2 separate regions of the Homo sapiens genome follow, and region 1 is linked to region 2. The links are contacts of gene promoters, found by promoter capture Hi-C in blood cells and fetal thymus (Javierre and others, 2016). All regions are on one chromosome and are shown on one strand. The core of a region is centred on a gene start or on the middle of the fragment in contact, and the rest is flanking DNA. Distances in the headings are between cores, read along the strand shown.

Evidence for each region. Contacts are between HindIII fragments. The CHiCAGO score rates a contact against its expected background, and 5 or more counts as called.
Region 1: a contact is called between a fragment that was not itself captured here and the fragment with the promoter of C1orf105 in region 2, in 3 of 17 cell types (non-activated CD4 T cells, activated CD4 T cells and naive CD4 T cells). The highest score is 8.8, in non-activated CD4 T cells.

Annotation. Positions count from the first base shown.
Region 1 is chr1:172,178,004-172,182,525 of GRCh38, reverse strand. All of the region lies in intron 14 of DNM3 (dynamin 3), which reads right to left. Among named protein-coding and RNA genes, the nearest start is that of DNM3OS, 35 kb to the right of the region's middle. RefSeq lists an enhancer at 1,331-1,380. The HindIII fragment of the contact is 1,836 bases long and covers 1,433-3,268 here.
Region 2 is chr1:172,417,555-172,422,392 of GRCh38, reverse strand. C1orf105 (chromosome 1 open reading frame 105) reads right to left here and starts at 1,708. Exons shown (of 7, transcript NM_139240.4): 1 at 1,487-1,708. The coding sequence starts at 1,507. All of the region lies in intron 1 of LOC102724528 (a long non-coding RNA gene), which reads left to right. It also overlaps a transcript of DNM3 not described here. The HindIII fragment of the contact is 10,347 bases long and covers 1-3,823 here.

The DNA.
Region 1 (4,522 bases), core at 1,101-3,600, 240 kb after region 2:
TTGAAATGAGTTGGATTTATTGCTGGACTTGGTTATCTTGTTTTTGAGGAAATATTTGCATTTGAGGGAAAAAGTGTGTTTTATTACTTCATCTCTAGTACCATTTAAGGTATGTAATGATGGTTAGACATCAACCTGCAAAATATTTCTTCAGAGCACCCTGTCCTCTAGCTTCTCATATCCCAGTGATGCCAGATCCTAAATTAATTTCATGCACACAAACTCAACATTATTATCTCCATTTTTATGCTTTATCTAGTGAGTTAAGCATCTTAGAGAAATCGTTTTTTTGTTTGTTTGTTTCCCCTAACTGATCTTGGACAGACTGTTAAAAAAAAAAAAACTATAAAATGTTGTCACATTTTTTTCCTCTTGACCAGACTTCACGTCCCAGCTTGATGACCTTCACACTACAATAATGTTGCCTATTTCTAATAGTAAAAAGTTCCAGTTCGTTATAACCAAAAACTCAAAGAAATCGACTATCAGTCTTGAAACCCCTTACATATTATCTTTAAATAGAGTTCATAAAGTTGTGGCAACACCCACCAAAAACAGACATGAGGCAGATTGATTCATCAGCACCTAATGAGTTAATTAAGAAACAAAAATACAAGAACACACAGAATTATGGCCAGCCTGGCCTTGCTTATTCAGTTTTAGTCAGAGACCACAACTTCTTTCAAATAACCCCAGTTTATTTTCAAAAAAAAAAAAAAAAACCCTGTCTTCAGACAGGATATGGGGGAGGAGTTAAGTGGTGATGTTTTACACATGCACATCTGGATACAGTCCAATTATTTCCCTTAAACATTCCCCCAGTTGTTTTCATTTTGCTCCATGCTTTGGCATTCATAAATTTGTGAGATTAATTGTGTGTCAGCAGTCTGCAGGCCTGGAGCTGGGCACCAGTTTAGTAGCAATACGGCTACAAAACAACTCTGTAGAGAAATACGTTCACATATTTAAAAAGGAAAGCATAGTCACATAGTTCGTTTCTGTTTAATATCAGGCATTGACGTTATGCATAAAGAAGGTAGTGTAATCTTTCAGGGAATTGCCCTAATAGCAAGATATATATAGATATATATCTCCACGCCTACCAGAAATATGTGTGTGTGTGTGTGTGTGTGTGTGTGTGTGTGTGTGTAAACTCAAGTGTTTTAAAGCATAAGAAAGGATTCATCAAGAGGAAAAATGAAGAGTTCAGGGCTGGACATATTTGTGTTCCTTGTTTTCATCTGATTATTTTGAAGGGCGTGTCAACAGATTGCATTTCTTGTCTTGGAAATGTACTAACAATTAAAATCACCTTTGCCAAAAAGAACCAACTTATCTTAGAGATGGTGGAGAAGCATCTTTATTTTAAAAGATGTTTTGCAAAGCCTCTTATGCTTTCAAAATTACTATATGAAAAGTGAAACTAGAAGCTTTCTGCCCTGATGTGTAGGCCTCACAGTCCAGATTATGAGCTCAGCTAAGGAAGAGCTGTGTTCCCCAGAGCCCAGCGGAGTGGCGGCACTTGGTAAGTGCTCCGTACTTGCCAGTTGACAACAAAAGAACTATCATTTAAATGTTGGTAAACAGATATTTATTCTTGTTTAATGTTATTTTGCCTTATATCCATGAGTAGGAAATAAACTATTAGATATTGTGACATTTTTCACAAGTAAATGCCACATGCCAAAGTAAGGTAATAGGTAGGGCAAATTTTCATACATATACATAACAGAGGAGAGTGTTCCAGATTAAAGTTCTGAGATTTGCAACATCAGTATTGGGAGGAAACTGGCAGCTTCTCCTCTAACCCTCTACAGAAACACAAAACAGCTATTGGAAACATGTAGAGCATTCCTCTGGAAAATAATTAGGCTTCAAATAAATCATATGCTATTCCTGCAATAAAAGAAGGAAACTTTTTATGATCTTCTGTTTTCCCTCAAGTATGCTATATGTTGAGAAGTTTTACCTAAATCACACTGTATTCTAGCAGTAAGCTCTTAATTATATAAGAAATAAAATGCATTGCAGATATTACAATGAATCCACTTGTCCTTAGACTATTTATCTATCAGAATATTTTCTAGGCCAATATATTTGAAGGCTACTGAGAAAATCACACACTGTTCTTTGGCTTTAGTTTCCTTGTGAGTAAAATGAGGTGCATAATCTCAGCCCTATCTACGATACAGGGTAAAAGTCAGGATCTAACGAGTGAAATTGGTAAACCATAAAGAACAAACAAGTGTTGGTTAGCATGCAGTAAACATACAAACTCTCCTACTCATGGTTCTGTATTGAAAAACCGAAATACATAGTATCTTATTCTTTACATAAATTAATTTACTGATCTTGAGACCTAACTGAATCATGATAGTATATCCACATAGACTAGATTTGTTCCTACAGGGCAAACTGCCATGCATTCATGCTAAACTATACAAGAGCAGCCAGGTAACAGAAGGCAATGCTGCTTCAAAAACACTGCAAATTTGACTCAGAACTCAGAGACACGGTATGATATTTGTAACATATTTACAGATACAATTAGGCTTTACTGAAGCTAATTGATTTTCACCACCTGAGCTTATTATCTACTAATGGTAGGGTTCTAGTCGTCTAATCCCTGCTATGTACGCCATGGGCGAAAATCTAATTAACCTCTCAGAGCCTTAGTTTTTTAATACATAAAAAAGTAATAACACCTGCTCTGATGAAGCTATTGTGAAGATTAAAATGTGAGATATGAAGAAGTGCTTTTACAGAGTAGTCACCCAGTACTTATTGGTTATATCTAAAAATTATTGAATCTGTATTCCCAAAACTATGCTGGAAAATAAGTCCAGAATTAAATAAGGCCACAAATAATCCAAGCAGAAATGATCCGGCATAGCATCATTAAAATATACACACATATTTATAAATATTGCCTGTATACATTTTTCTTAGAAAGTCCATGTAAGTTATACAGAAGCTGAAATAAACCATAGCAAAAAAAACTTCTCCCCTCTTCTCAATGACATCTTGAATTTAGCAGTTCTTATTTTATTTTAGTAGAATAATACTTCTATTAAATCACTTTAATGATAATTATAATTAATACTTATATAATCCTTTAACTTTTCAAAGCACGTTCATACCAATTATTTTCTTTTGGTTTCCAAACAACATTATGAAAATATAATCTTGAATTTAATACCAGTTAAATACTAGTGGGAGTAACAAACTTTGTCAAAACTAAGATGCAATAACACTACTCAGAAAAGCTTTGCAACACAACCAGTGGCCAAATTCCACTTCATTACATGTAGATCACAGTCCACAAATGACAATCAGTCACCACTAATAATAAACAAAAAATTTTTGGATTCTAGTCCAGGCAGGAGAATGCTTTTCATGAATGCAAAATTAGAGGTGACATTCTGAAAGTAGGCTCCACAAAACAACTAGCTCAGCATTCTAAGTCCAGTTTCATTCAAAGTACACACAGATAACTACTATCACCGCCCTGGCTTTAGAGTATTAGCTCACCCAGCAGTTCAAAGCATTCCTTATATTTTAGACTAGAGGAGGATCACCATTTTTGCTCTATTTTATGGACTGAGACATAAAGCGATAGAGACATGCCCATGGAGCTGGAATAAGACTTATTCTATTTCATCTCCATAAGGTGACCCCTTAACCCCCTGCAATCTAGCTTCTGTCTTTACCATTGTATTGACAATGAAATCCTAAAGATCACTGATGATCAACTAATAATCAAACCCAGTGACTTACTCTTTCTTCCTTTCATTGATATCTCTGTAACATCAGCTTGAAGTTGAAGTAAACCAGGGTCCATTCTCTGTCTCTCTTTCTCTCTCTGTTTTGCTCTCTTGCTGTATCTCTTGCACACCCTTTCTCTCTGTCTCTCTCCCTCTCTTCATCATCACGGCATGCACTATCTTACTACCTTGCTTCTTTTAACTGCTTCATCTATGTTCATTCCTATCCCTTCCTTACTTGTGGATTCTCTGACTTACACATCAACCTCCTACTCCCCTCTCCAGTCATCTTCACTTCATATATGTAAAAAATTTACTACTGTACTCTCAGAATTATACAGACTCAAGTACATAATAAATACTCAATAAATATTTTTAAATAAATGAATAAATTACTCTCAATGGAAAAATCAATCTCTGGACACTTTCTTAAGATTTAAGTTTATTTTTTAACACCAGTGTGTTGGATGGATTGGAATTGGATTTTTTTCTTCTTCTTATTACAGCCATATGCCACATAACCACATTTTAGTTGAGAAGAGACCACACCTTCAATGACAGTGGTCTCATAAGATTATATGACAGTATTATTACTGTAGCTTTTCCTCTGTTTAGATATGTTTAGATACACTAATACTTAGCACAGTGTTACAATTGCCTACAGTATCCAGTACAGAAACAGGCTTTACAGGTTTGTAATCTAGGAACAAAACAAACAGCCTAGGCATGTAGTGGGCTAGACCATCTAGCTTTGTGTA
Region 2 (4,838 bases), core at 459-2,958:
TCCCTTTTGGCCCAGGGTATATCTAGAAATGTCATCCAAGAGCTAGGGCCTGCAATGAGTGCCTCAGGATTTTGCCCAGTACCCTATCCTACTCTGGCTGAACTGGTATCCAAGTTGCAAGACAAAGTCCTTTTCACTCTTCCCTCTTCTCTCCTCAAGCAAAGGAAGGAGTCCCTTTTGGAGCCATAAGCTGTGTTGCCTGGGGTTGGGGGAGGGGTGCTGTAAGCACTTACTTAGCCATCCTGGCTGGTGTCTTACTAGATCGTGCGCTCCCCAGTCCACTGGCTCAGAGCCCAGCACAGCACTAGGACTTGCCTGGGTATTGCAGTTGTTGTGGCCCAGACAGGCTTTCAAGTTTATTTAGGACCTCAGAGCACTTTAGCCCATGGTGGTGGAGGTAGTCAAAACTCAGTTTCTGAAACCTGGGATGGGCAATTCTCCTCTGGCTAAGGGTGGTCTAAATGGTCCCTCCATTGGCAACAGCTAAGTTCTGCCCCGTATTGGCAGCACTGAATTCTAGAGTCCCACAATCGCTGTGCCCTCCCTCCAAGTGCACAGATTCTCTCTCCACACTATGTGGCTGCTGCCAGGGGATGGGGGAGGGGTGGTGTCAGCAATTCAAGATTGTCTTTCTTATCTTCCTCAGTGCTTCTTTCAACAATACGAAGTTAAAACCAGGTACTGTGATCACTTTGTGATCACTGATTTTTGGTTCTTATGAAGGTGCTTTTTTGTGTAGATAGTTGTTAAATTTGATGTTCGTGCATGGAGAACAATCAGTGAAGGCTTCTGTTTGGCCATCTTGCTCTGCGTCCTCCCCAACTTAGGATTTTTTTACTTTATCATGGGTTCATCAGGGTATTGCATGCATTTTTGACTTACAATATTTTCAACTTGTGGTGGTTTATTGAGATGTAACCCTATCATAAGTCAAGGAGCACCTGTACTATGGTAATAGAGACAGCTAGTATATCCCTTTAAATAGGAAACATACAGTGTCATAAGCTCAATGTGATTTATTCAGATTTAGACCCTAGTAATTATAAAAGTCTATACAAGTTTTTTTTTCTTTCTCAGCAATCTTAACTTCCTGTGACTGAGATTCATTGTTTTAAAGTGCATTCACAGTTGAGAAGGTTTACTTCAGAATCTCAGGGAACTGCACTAAAGAATCTGGTATCAATTTTCTGAGGATTTAAAAAAATCATACTTAAATGCTGAGTTATAAAAGATGTTGGCAAGTACAACATTTTTTCCAAACTATACGATAAAGAGCATTGAAATTTATCATGCCCCAAACCCATTAAAATTATCTTCACCTGTAACTGAACATCAGCTGTTATTTCCTTACCTTCTTTTGGCTTTCAACTTCTAGGATGTCTGTTGAAACACCCCTCAATGTTTATGTGGCCTCCAAGGCATACAAACATTTACCAGGGTAACCCCATAAGGAAAGAATTGGAAGTTTCATTTATTTTTTTCCTACCTTTAGTTCTCTTTTTTCCATCTTTCAGATCTTTAGATGTTCTGAGTTTTTCTAGCTGGAGACTGGGGAAACCTAGCTCCCCTCACTGTGGCCAGTGGAAGACTGCTGTGGAGAACCTGAATCCAAAGTGTTTTTTGTTAGGAGACGAAGTAAACAGGCCAGTTTACAGTTTCAATACCAGTATGCCTTTTTCTCTACCAACATCTGTGTGATTTACATCTTGAATCATATAATTCCATTCAGAATGAAAAGCTCAGTTTCTGATTGGCTGAAATGAGTTCTAGTATTCCTTTCTTTGTTAGAAGTCAAAATCACAATGTTCTGGAACATTAGCATGTGTTGGGTAAAGTTGATAACAGTATACTAAAACTCAGATAGCTGCTTCAGTACTGAAGTCAGAACAGTTCTCCCTGGAAAGACAACCAAACTTTTCTCTTATTGTAGCACTACATTGTAATTGCTTATTTAGCTATTTTGTAAGCTACTTTTATTCTGTTACTTCTCTGGTATTCCCAGGGTCCAGGACATTATCATGAATTCAAGAAATGTTTGATGCATAAATAAAGGAATGAAAATATATAAGGAATATTATGTTTACTAAAGGCATAATAGTTTGGCTCTTCCTGACTATCCTGAGTTATGATCAACTCTGAAAAAGGGAGTAATTTTTCAAGTCTATTAAACATAGCAGGGTGGAGGTGGAGGTAAGAAGAGTTGGGGAAAGGTATATTATGAAACATAGAAATACTATTTACTAAATACATATTAACAAATCTTAGCATAATTTAATTTTACTCCAGGCTGCCCCCCATCCCTTTCCCCTGCCCTCTTTTTTCTTGCCTATAGAATGTAAGGAAGGGAACACACTTCTTTGTTAAGGAAAACTGAGTAAGGTTGTCATTTCATTCTGTTATGACTGGAGTTTTTCCTTCTCATCATTCATCAGGTCAATTTAAGTTTTATACATCTAAACTGTGTAACACTGCATATAAAAATAAGTCCATGTTTAAGACAAAGTGGAAAAGTACCAAACACTTTTAAAAAATGAATTGAAGAAAACCTTCTCTTTGACAACTTCGGTTTTCATTTGGGGAGGTGGTATGAAATCATCTAGGTACATTTTTGTCTATTGGGATGAAGAATGCTATCCACTAAGAATATTGATTTAAAAATCAAATGCCTGGACTGGAGGGGAAGGAAAGGACAAAAGACTGCATGCTATGTGCTATTTTACATCAAGTCACCTCCTTCCTGCTATACATGAGCTTCAGTTGATGCCTTGGTTTGGAGCCTTTGAACTTTCTTAGTTATCACTGATTTTAAATGGTAGTCACTGGACCGGGGATACAATTAAAATAATGTAACATGCCATATGAACATTTTAAACCAAGAAACTGATTTTTCATTTTTGAGTGGAGAACTCAGTCCTTAAAAAAATTTGTGGTCCGAAGAAACAGCATTACTAATGAGGACTCTCCCTTTTACAACTGGGGGTTCCTGCCCACATCTTCCAAATACCTCCTTTGCCAGGGCTTGCCTAGGTCAGATGTGAAGTAAATAGAACTGATGAATGATTTTTTTGACTCTCTTGTCATGTAGTTTTCTGTCATCTTAATATGCTGAAGGGGAGCACATTCAGAAGTGATCTCATTTGAGAAGGACTACTTTCAAGTTCTATTTTAGGCCACATAAATTTTCAAAAAATAAAATTCTGAATTAAATCTTAAACCTTTGGGAAGGCTTCAGATCACATATTTGGTGGAATGTACTATATTACCTAAATAATAAACATTTTATTTGGATACATCTTTGGGATGCTTGTTAAAAAATTATAGATTAAAATTTTAGTGTTAGAATTACCATTTGAGGATAGAGGAATAAAAAGTTCTCTATTCCTTCAAACTTATATGGACTCCATTTTTCTAGTGCTTTACTGACATCATGAAGAGTCTTTCTTCTCAAGGTGGCAACATTTCCTTGCCTTGTACTTTTATTCTGAATGATGTGGTTTTTCGCCCTTACATTTGCCATATAGAATTTATGAGGTTTATGTGTTTTTGCTCTACAGTTTCTTCTATGATCTTACATTTTATCTCCCTTAAGAGTGTTTAGAAAAACAATAATAGGAAAAAATATTTTGGTGCAATAATAAGTAAAAATGGGATTCCTGGAGGTGGATTGGAATTATTTAGTCTTCTGTGTTTTTTCTAGACATCCATAAATTTTCTTTTTCTTTTTATTCTTCTATTGGACAGAAATTTCACTTGAAGGTAGATTATTAGTCTCTACCAAAGACCGTCTTAAATCACAATGCTTTAAGAACTTTTGAATTAAGCTTCTTAGAGGAACACATAATATATTCACCTTACCTTGTTTTAGTTGAAACAAATTCTTTTTTAAATTTAGGTCTTCTTTAAAAAAAGAAACAGAACACACTTCATTTTTATATAGAATAAACTTTGTTTTTATTATACACATGGATGAAAAATAAAAGTTTTTATGTACATACGACATATAGTGCAAATGAAAAGCTTTTAAATACCATGGATAGACATGTTGTTGGAAACAAAAGGAGATGAATGATGGGGGTTAGGATGGTCGTCCTGGAACTGCAGGAGGGGGTCGCCTAGTAAAAACAAAACAAAACAAAACAAAATAACAAAAAGAAAGACACAGATGCAGAGGAAGAAAACAATGTTTAAATTATAAAATAAACCCAAATAATAGCATGCAAAAATAGCTCACAAAAGTCAAATTCAAATCACACACAAAAACATGCAGACATGCAAAGGAAATGAAGGGACATCACATAGCTAAGTTAGCAGTTCCCAGGACTTTTCCTGGCTACTAGCAATGTTCTAGGTATGAGCCATTTGAGCTCACTCAAAAAGCTTCTTATTTTGCACCATGGAATGATAAATCCATGCACTCTTATTCAGGAGAACTGGGACTAGTCCCCGAGCCAAATACCTTTATAACTTGTATATTTGATTTTCAACCCTGATTTTGTGAAACTCAGTTATTTCCAAAGATTTCAATGAATGTTGTGAAATCTCCATAGGGGGAGAGGGAGTTGATGTAGCCAATGGCAGGTTAAATTTTTTTTAAGTGAGGTAAATTAGAAGGTGTCAAGAGATCAAATGAGCAATGTAATCACAATGCAGAGAATGCCAGAGGTTGATCTCAGAAAAAAAGGATTTGTAAATAAGAATTTGCTCCAGGTGAGTAGTCCTGGTGTGTAATAGCCTGGATTCAGGCCTAGGGAAACTAGGAGGCAAGGTCTGGTCCATGGCAACCCCAGGATTTTCTAGGATTTCCCTCTGTCTAAGAGCTAGGTATAACTGTATTTCTG